Regions from separate parts of the Homo sapiens genome. Here all the other regions are linked to region 2. Evidence: promoter capture Hi-C in 16 types of primary human blood cells and fetal thymus (Javierre and others, 2016). All regions are on one chromosome and are shown on one strand. Each heading gives the region's core, a stretch centred on a gene start or on the middle of the fragment in contact. The rest is flanking DNA. Distances are from core to core; before and after follow the strand shown.

The links. Contacts are between HindIII fragments. The CHiCAGO score rates a contact against its expected background, and 5 or more counts as called.
Region 1: a contact is called between a fragment that was not itself captured here and the fragment with the promoter of MDN1 in region 2, in 3 of 17 cell types (total CD8 T cells, naive CD8 T cells and activated CD4 T cells). The highest score is 6.4, in total CD8 T cells.
Region 3: a fragment that was not itself captured here is called in contact with the fragment with the promoter of MDN1 in region 2 in 2 of 17 cell types (activated CD4 T cells and naive CD4 T cells); the score reaches 7.0 in activated CD4 T cells.
Region 4: a fragment that was not itself captured here is called in contact with the fragment with the promoter of MDN1 in region 2 in 2 of 17 cell types (naive CD8 T cells and total CD8 T cells); the score reaches 7.7 in naive CD8 T cells.

The regions. Positions count from the first base shown.
Region 1 is chr6:90,449,758-90,453,032 of GRCh38, reverse strand. No RefSeq gene overlaps it. Among named protein-coding and RNA genes, the nearest start is that of MAP3K7, 140 kb to the left of the region's middle. The HindIII fragment of the contact is 8,218 bases long and covers 1-3,275 here.
Region 2 is chr6:89,818,428-89,821,390 of GRCh38, reverse strand. MDN1 (midasin AAA ATPase 1) reads left to right here and starts at 1,597. Exons shown (of 102, transcript NM_014611.3): 1 at 1,597-1,885. The coding sequence starts at 1,784. RefSeq lists enhancers at 660-1,279, 1,280-1,899, 1,554-1,943, 2,520-2,963. The HindIII fragment of the contact is 1,090 bases long and covers 855-1,944 here.
Region 3 is chr6:90,431,816-90,434,693 of GRCh38, reverse strand. No RefSeq gene overlaps it. Among named protein-coding and RNA genes, the nearest start is that of MIR4464, 120 kb to the right of the region's middle. The HindIII fragment of the contact is 2,496 bases long and covers 79-2,574 here.
Region 4 is chr6:90,397,165-90,400,159 of GRCh38, reverse strand. No RefSeq gene overlaps it. Among named protein-coding and RNA genes, the nearest start is that of MIR4464, 86 kb to the right of the region's middle. The HindIII fragment of the contact is 175 bases long and covers 1,570-1,744 here.

The DNA.
Region 1 (3,275 bases), core at 4-2,503, 630 kb before region 2:
ATCTGAAACTTGTGCCCAATCAAAATTTTTGATTTTCCCTCCCAAAGTTCCTCCACCAGTCTTCTCTATCTCGATATATGGCACCATCATGGTACCACCAACTGGAGCCATTAAATGGTACCATTTGCTTATGACAAAAAATCTAGAAATTATCCTTGATAACTTTCTTTGCATCACCCTCACATCCAAACCATTGACAAAACTCTCAAGTTCACCTTAAAACATAGGCTGAATCTATCCATTTATCTCCATCCTCTGCCAACACACATTGGTAGAAGCCATTATTACCTCTCCTGTGGCATACTTCAACAACCTACTAACTGATTTCCTTGCTTCATTTTTACTTTCCTATGATCTCTTTTTAACATAATAAATGGAAGAAAGGAAAGCTCTTCCTTATAGTTGAATTCCAAATAATAAACATAGAAGTGATGTATTTAGAAATTCATCAATGGGTGCTAAAACTAGTAAAAGTTTGATGAGCAATAGGATATTTACATAGTCTCAAAGAAACTCCTCAGGAATGACTTATTAATTACAAAGGGAAAATTAGTCACTTTAAAGAGGACAGACTTGGGGAACATGGCCTTAAGCAAGTGATCAAAGCTAACATCACCAGTATTGGGACAAACAATACTCACAGGTCCACATGGCTGGGGAGGCCTCAGAAACTTACAATCATGGCAGAAGGCACCTCTTCACAGGGTGGCAGGGGAGAGAATGAGAGCCAGCAGGGGAAATGCAAGATGCTTATAAAACCATCGATCTCGTGAGAACTCACTCACTATCACGAGAACGGCATGGGGGAAATAACCCCCATGATTCAATTACCTCCACCTGGTCCCACCCTTCACATGTGGGAATTATTACAATTCAGGGTGAGATTTGGGTAGGGACACAGAGCCAAACCATTTCACTGTTCTTGCAAATTTCTTGTAAGTTTGAAATCATATCAAAATGAAAAGTTTCCAAAACACTATACTCATCTGGCCATGTGATTTTTCTGCTTTCTGCCCCTCAGTAGCTTCCTAACTTCTTTATAGTAAAACTCAATGCCTTGCCATGGCTTACATAGCCCTCTGTGATCTGGCCCCTGCCCGCTGCTCATGTCATGCTGTATCATTCTTTCTCAGCCTCCTAAACCAGGTGTCGACAAAAAGAGTCAAACTCTGTAAAATATTTGAAGAGATTTATTTTGAGTCAAATATGAGAGACCATGGCCCATGGCACAGCCCTCAAGAGATCCTGAGAACATGTACCCAAGGTGGTCAGGGCACAGCCTAGTTTTATACACTACAGGGAGACATGAGACATCAATCAAATACATGTAAGATATACATTGGTTTGGTCTGGAAAGGCCTGTAAGGAGAAGGAGGGCTTCCAGATTATAGGAAGATCTGAAAATTTTCTGATTGGCAATTGGTCAAAAGCGTTACTATCAATAGAAAGTAATGTCTGTGTTATGATAAGGGGTTGTGGAGATCAAAGTTTTATCATGCAGATGAAGACTCCAAGTAGCAGGCCTCAGAGAGCACAGGTTGTAAATGTTTCTAATTAGACTTAAGGTCTGTGTTGATGTTGAATGCTGGTCAGCTTTTTCTAAATTTCAAAAGTGGGGAGGGTATAATGAGGCATGTCCCACCCCCTCTTCTTGTCGTGGCCTGAACCAGTTTTTCAGGTTAATTTTGTAGTGTCCTGGCCAAGAGGAGGGGTCCATTCAGATGGCTGGGGGACCTTAGAATTTTATTTTTGGTTTACACAAGCCAGTGTCTTTCTGTCCCTGAAATATACCAACCTCTCTCACCTTAGTGCCTGAGAGCTGTTTCTCTGCCTGGAATGCTCTTCCCCTCAACTTTGTAGATTTGGTTCTTCCTTGACATTCAGACATCAGCTTCAAGGTCACCTCCTTAAAGAGGCCTTCCTTAGCCACACCCCCTCACTCTCTCTCATCCTACCTTAAAGTGGCTTCCATGTAGAGCACTTATCACTCTATGTTTTCTTTATTTACTGATTCGCTTATTATCTTCCCCACCGTGGACCATAAAACCACGATAACAAGCATTTTGTCATATTCATGGCTGCACCTTTCGTGCCTAGAATAGTGCTAGTCCCTACTACATGCTCAATAAATAAGTGCTGAATGCAGCTCGTGTTTTCTATGCATTTTGGTAATGCTAATAAATGACAATAAAATTCTAAGCCCCTCCCACTGATTGAATGGGTCTTCCTCTCAGCCAAGGGGACACAATGAAACCTGAGAATCTAGTTCAGGTCATGATGGAAAGGTGGGGGGCAGAGATGGGGCTGGAGTCTGTCTGACTGAACAGACTCTCTGTAGCCATAAGACACCAAATTTCAACCTCACTATTATACCATCACATGACAGATAGCAGGGCCCTGAAAGAAACTGAAGTTTTTTGACCCTAAAATATGCTTACTTGACACGTTTTGAAATGGCCCTGCAAAGCTGTTTCTTGTGGGGGGAAGTTAGCATTCTGTAGAGAATCTGCTTCCTTTACCAGGTCTCTCCAAACAGTCTGATACCTTTGGTAAGAGACATTCACATCTATTCTCTCTGAAGCCTGGAGGCTTGTCTACATGATAAAAACCTTGGCTTCCACAACCACCACCCCCCAACCCTTACCTCAAGCCGACTTCAACTTTTCAGGCAGAGTTTAACCCTTTCAACTAATCACCAATTTGAAAATCTTTGAATTCACCTATGACCTATAAGCAACCCCTCCCCTCTTCAAGTTGTTTGGCCTCTCCGGACCTAACTACTGTATATCTCACATACCTTGATTGATGTCTTATGTCTCCCTAAAACATATAAAACCAAGCTATAACCCAACTGCCTTCAGCACATGTTCTCAGGAGCTCCTGAGACTATGTCATGGGTTATGATCCTTAACTGGCAAAATAAACTTCTAAGTTGATGGAGATCTGTCTCAGATACTTTTTGGCTTACACTATGTATTATTTTCATATTGAAATAAGTCTTCTGGTAATAGAATCTCCCTCTCACCAGTCATGGATACCCTTTCCTATGTAACTCCAGAGTTTTCAGTTCTGGGCATCATTATGGTTATATTCAGAACAATAGCTATTTTCTTTCAGTTCTTTTTTTCTAGGGAGCCAAAGCTCATTAAGCCCCTTCCCCATTAGGATCCTTGGGGACCAAGGCAATTACTAAGAGGATAATGGGCATTATGTGCTCCCACCCTTCCCAGAAACGATGGCTGCATCTCATAAATGCCAGGGCTTCAGTATGCAGT
Region 2 (2,963 bases), core at 348-2,847:
TCTCCTGCTTCAGCCTCCTGAGTAGCTGGGATTACAGGCATGCACCACCACACCTGGCTAATTTTTGTATTTTTAGTAGAGACAGGGTTTTACCATGTTGGTCAGGCTGGTCTCAAACTGCTGACCTCAGGTGATCTGCCCGCCTCGGCCTCCCAAAGTGCTGGGATTACAGGCGTGAGCCAAGGCACCCAGCCCTAATTTTTGTATTTTTAGTAGAGACAGGGTTTCACCATGTTGGCCAGACTGGTCTCCAACTCCTTATCTCGTGATCTGCCTGCCTTGCCTTGAGCCACTGCGCCCAGCCCACAAGTGCACTTTTAATGTTATGGACTCTACTATTTTTTATGACTTCCAGAATATGCTATAACTTACACCCCATAGTTTAATATTCCCAATTGAACATTTTCTTCCAATATCTGTATTAAGAAAACTGCAAGGGGTGTCTTTGTCACACTTAGTGAGGATTTCCGCAGGCTAGAGTCCTACAAGGGGAATTGCTGGGGCAGAATGTTAACTAGTTAGGTATGAGCAGAACAGGAGAGCGCTCCCCACCCCACACATACCAGGACTATTGGGTGACAATCAAACGATGGTCAGGCGGTTCTTAACTGTTTCTCTAACGTTCACCGGGGCCAGCGAAAGGCAGTCTCCTAATAGAAAACACCTGAAACTGATCAGTAGCTTCCCAGTAAGATCTCAGGAGTGGGGAGAAGCAATGCAAGTTCCCCAAAGTATGCCAACATATAAAACTTCAAGTCAACAGGTCAAGCTGCGCACTTGGTTTCTCAAGTCGCCTGCTTGGCAGTCTTCCAAGTTGTACTTTCCTCCTTTTCTTTCCGTCCCGTTCTAAAGCTTTTTGATAAACTTTTACTTCTATTCTGAAACTTGTCTAGGTCTATCCTGCCTTATGCCCTTCGTGGAATTATTTCTTCTGAGGAGGCAAGAACTAAGGTTACTGCTGACCCCTACCTATACAGGGGGTAACTGCCACCGCTAACAAGAAGGGGAGAATCAGCTTTTCTTTCTTTTTTTGAGACAGTAAAAGTCTGCTGTGTCGCGCGGCTGGAGTGCAGCTGCACGATCTCGGCTTACTGTAACCTCCGTCTCCCGGGTTCAAGCGATTCTCCTGCCTCAGCCTCCCGAGTAGCTGGGACTACAGGCGCGCGCCACCACGCCCGGCTAATTTTTGTATTTTTAGTAGAGAAGGGGGTTTCACCATGTTGCCCAGGCTGGTCTCGAACTGCTAACCTCAAGTGATCTGCCCTCCTCGGCCTCCCAAAATGCTGGGATAAAGACATGCGCCACCGCGCCCGGCCGAGAATCAGCTTTTCTCTCACATCTGATCTTTCCGTGTGTTAAGGCAGAAGCAAGGCACGGTGGGCTGAGACTCACACGCCCCCTCTTTCCTCCCCGGCCTAACGCACTCTTCTTTCTGTCCCACCACGTGCTGTGTTCGCGAGTCCCCATCACTCCTGCATCCAAACCGACTAGATTTTTGTTTCCATTTCCCTCCCGGAAAAGGCGGGACAGCGAAGACTGGCGTTTCCGCCGCTGAGGGGCTGAGGCCGGGAGGGCGCAGCGTAGCCGTCCCGAGCTGATGACGTCAAACGCCGTGTGCTCACCCACGTGTGGTGCCCCTCTCCCGGTGTAGGCGCTGGAGCTGAGGACGCCTTTCCTGCGGGCGTAGTTGCTGGCTGCTCGGGCACTGGGACCTCGGCGGCTTGGGGACGCTGGCCGCGAAGTAGGGAGCGCAGGTGGCCGCTCGGGGTGAGGGCCCTGGGTCATGGAGCACTTCTTGCTGGAGGTGGCAGCCGCGCCGCTGCGGTTAATCGCAGCCAAGAACGAGAAGAGCCGCAGTGAGTTGGGCAGGTTCTTGGCCAAGCAGGTAAGACGTGAAGGGAGAGGGAAAGCGCCGGAACGACTGGGTCGCCCCACTAGTAAGCTTCCTGCGCTCCCCCGCCGATACTCGCCGCTTTAAGTGGGGAGTGGTGCAGCCTCAGGTCAAGCTGGCCCCCTCCTGTGGGCTGGCGCAGGTCGTGGAGGTTTCCGAGCGTGTTTGAGGCGATTGGAAGGAGTCTTTTGTTTTTATCTGGGGGAGCCTTCCAGTACCCTTCCCATCGCCTCTCACCCCTATGCAAGCGCTTTGGCTGCTTGTGGCAGAGGTGGCCTTCCCAAAGGAATGTGGTTTGTTTTTCTGAAATTGAGGTTGCGTTTCTGCCGTTTTGACAAGTGTACGTATCACCTAAGTGTGCGTAGTGCAGCCACTCCTGTTAGTTTGGGGAACCATCGACAAATACTGATTGCATTCCTGCTGTGCGTAAGGAACGGTGTGGCGCTGTGAGAAAGTGGATAGATAAATTCGTTACGATCTCTGCCATGAGGGAAATTTGCATCTGTTTTTGGAGACAGTTCGTAAACACTTACAACAGCTGAAGTACAGAGCAAGACAGCTCATACTCACTGTAACTAACTATACAAATTATAAGGTTAATTAGAGTTTTCTGGGAAATAGGTCTTCGGGCTTTTAAGAACCTTCTCATTGACTCCTTCTATCTGAGTTGAAGACACTTTTTTTTTTTTTTTGAGACGGAGTCTCGCTGTGTCGCCAGGCTGGAGTGCAGTGGCGCGATCTCGGCTTACTGCACCCTCCGCCTCCCGGGTTCAGGCGATTCTCCTGCCTCACCCTCTCAGTAGCTGGGATTACAGGCGAGCGCCACCATGCCTAGCTACTTTTTGTATTTTTAGTAGAGACGGGGTTTCACCATGTTGGCCAGGATGGTCTCGATCTCTTGACCTCGTGATCCACCCGCCTCAGCCTCCCAAAGTGCTGGGATTACAGGCGTGAGCCACGGGACAGGTGAGTGTGGTCCCAGGTACTTGGGTCCCAGGTGTGGCTAATTAAAAAAAAAATTTTTTTTTTGTAGTTGTAAGGTCCCCCTTTGTTGCCCCGACTGGTCTGGAAC
Region 3 (2,878 bases), core at 77-2,576, 610 kb before region 2:
AGTAAAATTCTGGCCCTGTCCATTATGGGCTATAATGCCTCCCATCATTACATCTTTTCACTTAAATAGTCAAAAGCTTGCTTTCATCTATGTCATCACTTTGTCCCTGGTTTCACCAACCTGTGAATGCAAAATAAGCCATGTTTACAATTAGGCCTAACTTATAAGGGCCTCAAGCCTCCACTACTTCTGGTAAGAATTTCAGTCTTTTCCAGAATAATTCACTCCAAATATTTAAGAACTTCCTCAGAGTGTCTTGCGTGTATCAGTGAACTAATCTTTACTGCAGTCCCTTGCAGTGGCTGCAGAAATCCAGACAAGGCCCTGTCTACCTGATACCCCAATCATCAGCCTGCTCTGCCAACATTCTATGGCAGGTGGAGCTAGAAGCCCACTATTGCTGAGTGCCAGGCTGAAAATTCCCACACTCCAGCCATGTGGCTATGACCAAGCCATCCATCTGCTGACCCTCTGCCTTGCTGTCAGCACTGTCACCACCTCCACCAACACAGAGCCATCCCCCTCATATACCCCAGTGATGCAGGAGACACCCTACCCATTCAGCCCACCAGGCCATGCTGGGCTTACACACCAGCTCAGCCTGCATACCTCAGCCCACTTTGTTGTAACTCATACCCACACTGGGTGGTTTCTAAGCTCTTGTCCCTCATCCAAGAAGAATGAAAATAGGCTGACAACTGAAGGGTGAGGAAGGCAGACAATAATTTTATTGAGCAATGAAACAGCCCTCAGAGGAGAGGGGACACTAGGGTGGTCAACCACGGGTGGTTTTTCTCTGTTAGTGTGGCTGAGTCCAGGGCTTTTATGGGCTCAGAATAGGGGAGTGAGTGCTGATTGGTTTGTGAATATGCAAAAATGGTTAAAACAAAGGCACCACTCAAAGGTGGGCACAACAGCGGAAAAAACCAATTAGGGAAGGGTAGGCATATGTAAAATAGGTGAAGGATGGGGATCAATCAGAGGAAAACATGCAAAACCAGAAGACAGGTTCTCAATCTGGTCCATGGATTTAGCTTGTAGCTAGGCTTTTAGGCTTTAAAGTGTCTTTGGTTTGGAGATGGGGTTTCACCAGGGACCCACCCCTGTCTGCCTAGGATTTGTCTGCCTCCTGCCACTATGACCAGGAGAGATCTCTGACAATTTGCCCAGGCTGGTGTGGCTTCTTGTGGTAGGAGTGTAGGTGTTCCTTCTTGTGATTGTCTTCAGGTATGACCTACAGCAACACTGCCTGAGCCCAGGCATTACAGTGTTTCAGTTGAATAGCACAGCTCTTTCAATTGTCATGTTTGCAACCATTTACCCCAAAGCTCTCTCATGGCAACAGGTGGCTGCTGCAGCAGTGTTGCTAGTATCTTTCTGAAGATCAGCACCTCACAGCAAAGATGCAAACCCTGGTATTGAGTTCAGCTTACCTCTTCAAGCTCATCCTCTCTATGGTGAAGTTCTTACCCAAAGCCCTATTACCCTCTCCCTCAAACTTTGATCTGGGACACTGAAGGCCATCAGTCATGATTTTATGTTTTCACTTCTCCTTTTTGGGACCAGGGTTGTACCCCTCCATTCCCATGTACATTTGTGGAGGGACAAGGTTACATAAAGCCACAAAAACACATGGCTAGGTTGGAGGAGAGAGACTTTTTTGGCATCTGAGCCCCAGACCCTGAATTAGGCCATATTATTCTGTTATGAAAACAAATTGTATCAGATTCTTCTTGTGCCCATTCAGACAATGGTTATCAAGTGTCTATTACAATTCACTTATTCATTTATTTATCTAGCACCTATTGAACACCTACCATCTGACCATGTGCCAGGCACTGTGCTAGGCTTTGGAAACACAAAGATGAGTAAAACAAGGTTCTTTAACTCGACAAACAGTCTATGTGAAAGACATCTGTATAAATTACTTACAATGTAATGTTATCTTTAGGGCTGTGAGGAACAGAAGAGCAGAGGATTCCTTCTGTCTGGCAGAGTCAAAGTAAACTTCTCAAAGTCAATGATATTGAGGCTTGGTATTAAGGAATGAATAGGACTACCTTAGGAAGAGAAGTGTAAGGAATTTCAGAGAGTCAGGAATGAGCATTGGCCCTGGGGCATGGAAGTTCCTTGCTAACTTAGAGAAGCACTAGAATTAGATGTGGCTGGAGCACATGGCTGAGGAGAGACTGGAATAGCATGAATGAAGCTGGTTAGTTGCACTGGAACAGCTCACAAAGAGCCTTCCCTTGTAAGAACGTAATTTTGTTCGATTTCAAAAACATTTATTAAACACCTACTAGGTTTCTGGCATTCCGTTCTTTGGGCACTAGGGGTGAAAAGATTACTAAAGCATGGCCCCTATCTTTGAGGGGGTTAAGTCATCTGAAAAGAAAAAGTTATGCAGATCATTTCAATTTGATGTTAGGACAGGGCTAAATACAGGATGCCCTGGGGCACCCAACCTGAGGGGAGAAGGGGTGGGGCTTGTCTGGACCAGGTTTCCTGGAAGCATTACTACCAAAGTTTAATCTTGAAGGATAATCTTCCAGCAAAGAAAAGGGAGAAAAAGCTTTCCAGGCAGATAGAACAAAGAACAAAGACATCATTTATTGTTTTCCTTTATTTTGAAGGAGGACATGATAAGAAGCAGCTCAGTACTGCTGAAATATGAAATGAAAGGCTGGAGATGGCAGGAGGTAAGAATGGGGAGACAGGTAAGAGCTAGAATATTTGAGGTTCTGATACACCAGGCTGAGATCATTAGATTGAGTCTTGGAGGAAATGGAGAGCTATGGAAATGTCTCAGTCAGGGGAGTGATGTAATCAATTCTGCATTTTAGATATGTCATTCCAGTGCAGTGGGAAACAGGACAAA
Region 4 (2,995 bases), core at 408-2,907, 580 kb before region 2:
CCCGTCCTCCCACGCACCCATGGTGGGCAGGCAAGCTGCACGCTGTCATCGCCTAAGTCAGCAGCATTGGGCACACTTAATTACGGGGGAAGCAGAATCCAATTGCACTTTCTGTGCCAGCTCCTGACTTCACTTGCATCGTCATTTATTTTCCCTTTTTCATACCTCAGTGGAATAAATCTGAAAGATGTTTAGAGCTAAATTTTCACCAGCAGGTCTTCAGAAATGAATACAGGGATGAGGAATTTCATTCATTTATCCTTGCATTGGCTAAGCAAACATTTAATGAGTGCCTGTTGTATCCAGGTACTGTGCTTGGTGGTAGAGGGATTCTCAGATTTGTTTTCTAAGGTGAAAGAATTGGGATTTGGAGTCACTGATATTTTCCATGCTCATCACAAGGGAGAGGGGAGCTATAATATGTGGACATCATAATGAGATAAACTGGAAGTAATCAGCCTAGAAGACACTGTCTGGTTCCTGGAAGGTGAAGATTGAGATGCAGGTTCATAGGTGGGAAGCTCTGCCTTAGATCTGGGCTTTTGCGTTATTTCCATTAATGAGGCATAAGGTGGAAAGGTGGTGCCTCGCATCTGGGTCTGACAATCTTCTCAAATGCCCTAGAAGAAAGTCTTCCCTCCTATGGCCATTTCTCTTTCTCTTTTCTTTTGTTTGGAGAGCTTGTCAGAAAGAAGATTATACAGAGAAATACTGTTGATCATTGGGTCTCCTATGTCATGAAGGTAAATGATTGAGGATTTATTTTCCCTGCAGTTAGGAACCCCAAGCCAAGTCTGTAGGAGTCCTTTAAAGGATAGGGATTCAGACCCAAGTTTGTGTTTCTCCTAATGATACAAGATTGTTTTGAAAACTGACTGAAATGGATATTCCCGAACTCTTTGTCCTCCTTGCTAGAAAAGTCTACGTCTTCTTTGGCTGGTAAGACTAGGAAAGCAGCTCTCGTAGAGAGTTTGCAGATCATGAAATAACACAGCTACAGGGCTTTTCCAACTGGAGCCTAGAGGTTCCTGAGGTTCAGGGGCTTCTGGAAACATATACTTCCGACCTCTCTCCTGCTTCGCTTAACCAGAGAAGGTTCATGCTTAATATTCTTATATATATTAGTTTTCCTTTCTTAAGAGATCGCATCTAAAGAAAGGGTTTCTATACTGAGAGCTAGAGAGGAGAGAAAGAAGGAAGGTAGGAAGGCAGGAAGGCAGGAAGGAAAGAAGGAAGGTCCAAATCACATATTTAACAGAGGAGGAGACCAAGGCCCAGGAAGGCACAAGACTTACCAGGCTCATACAGCTTCCCAGAGCTAGCACTGGAGTGCAGGTGGACATCCTGCAGGGAACTTCCTGGATGCCAAGGCCTTTGAGTACTTTCACATATTTTTAGAGGGCATTTAATATGCTGAGTGTTATTTACTTTTAATTTAGCAAGTTCCAAAATGAACTTCTGTTGGGCCTCTACTGCTTTTGCTCTCTTCAATAGATTGTTGAGGGACAAAGCTCTATCTAAATGTCCCTATCTAACTGAAGAGAAAGACAATCCTGTTATGTTGAAGCTTAGAGGCTGTGATGAGCACCGCTTGTCACGCCCTTGTGGTGTCCTTGTTTGGAGAGGGGTGTTTGTAGAAGCAAGAGCATGAGAGAGGCAGTACAGTTTGCACTGATACAAACCCCCCTCCTCCACAATATATTAGAAGAAGAGAACCTCTGTGATGGGAGAGGAGGCAGAAGCTTGGACTAAGCCAACATCTATAATGAGAATGTCTCATTGAAACAAACTCTTTCCTTTTCAACACTACCTTGGTAGTCAACTTTTCCGTTGTTGCCCAGCTTTATCTTCCTGTCAGCATAAAAAATACCATCATAAGGTGAAATGTGTATGATATTCCCATAAATGCATACTGTCAGGAAGTTTCACTGCCATAAACTTGCCCTATCATTCCTCCCATTTCCTCCAGCTCTGTGCTTATATTCTGGTGCCTGGCAACCCTGTGCCTGCTGCAGTCACACACACAGGGGCAGGCAAGAGGTGAGAGCCTTGGGGAATCCCCTGCAAAAGGGCAGATCTGCCAAGGGCCGTTATCAGATGAGGGTGAGGGGTGTGAGGTGACTCAGACACTGTGAAAAGGCATTATTCATCTAGAACCCTACTTTCCTTTATGGTTCAGAAAACGTGCTCTTGAAATGCTATGTCTAAACAAAGTTCTGCAAATCAGGTCCTGTGTTACGTGGGTTGGAGAATCTTGCTACTCAAATGATTTCCTACAAAGCACCCTCTATCTACGAGACTTCATCCATTTGTTTGTTTATTTGTCCACTCAACAAATACATATTTATTCGGGACTTTGAGCAGGGCACTGGCTCAGGCATTGGGAATATGGGGGAAAATAAGATATGTCCCTGGGCTTATGAGCTTCAGATCATTACACAACTACTACAAGAGAGAAATCCAGAGGTTCTCATTGATCTTTTGCAAAATTGGATCTTCAAATGTAATTGCTTACAGCAGATTAGTAACTAAATAGAATTAGGTCCCTGGGTCAGCTTCCTCTCCTTCCTAGGCTCCTGTCAGCTGATTCTTCCAGAGCAGAATCTCCCACCTCTTCCTTCCAAAGTTGTAGTTTTAGTTTTACTTTGATCCAAGTTTTCTGTTGCTGCCTATTTGAAGTACAATGTGATCTGTTGAGCTTGGATCACAAACACATCTGGGAAAATTACTCTTTGAAGAAACAGCAGGAGATAAGAGCACCTAGTTTGAGCGAAAAGATCATTAGCAACGTCTCATTAACAAATATGTCTCTGCCTGTTTAGGGTCAGGTATCTAAAATCAGGTAGACAGAGCAATTAGCAGGAGGGAGGAGGAAAGATCAAACACTGAGGTTGATCCAACTGCTACTGCTGTTGCTGTCTGATCTCTCAGCAGCAGAAACAAACCCCAGGGCTGGATAAGATACCATGCCTGGAGGAGACCAAACAAACACTTG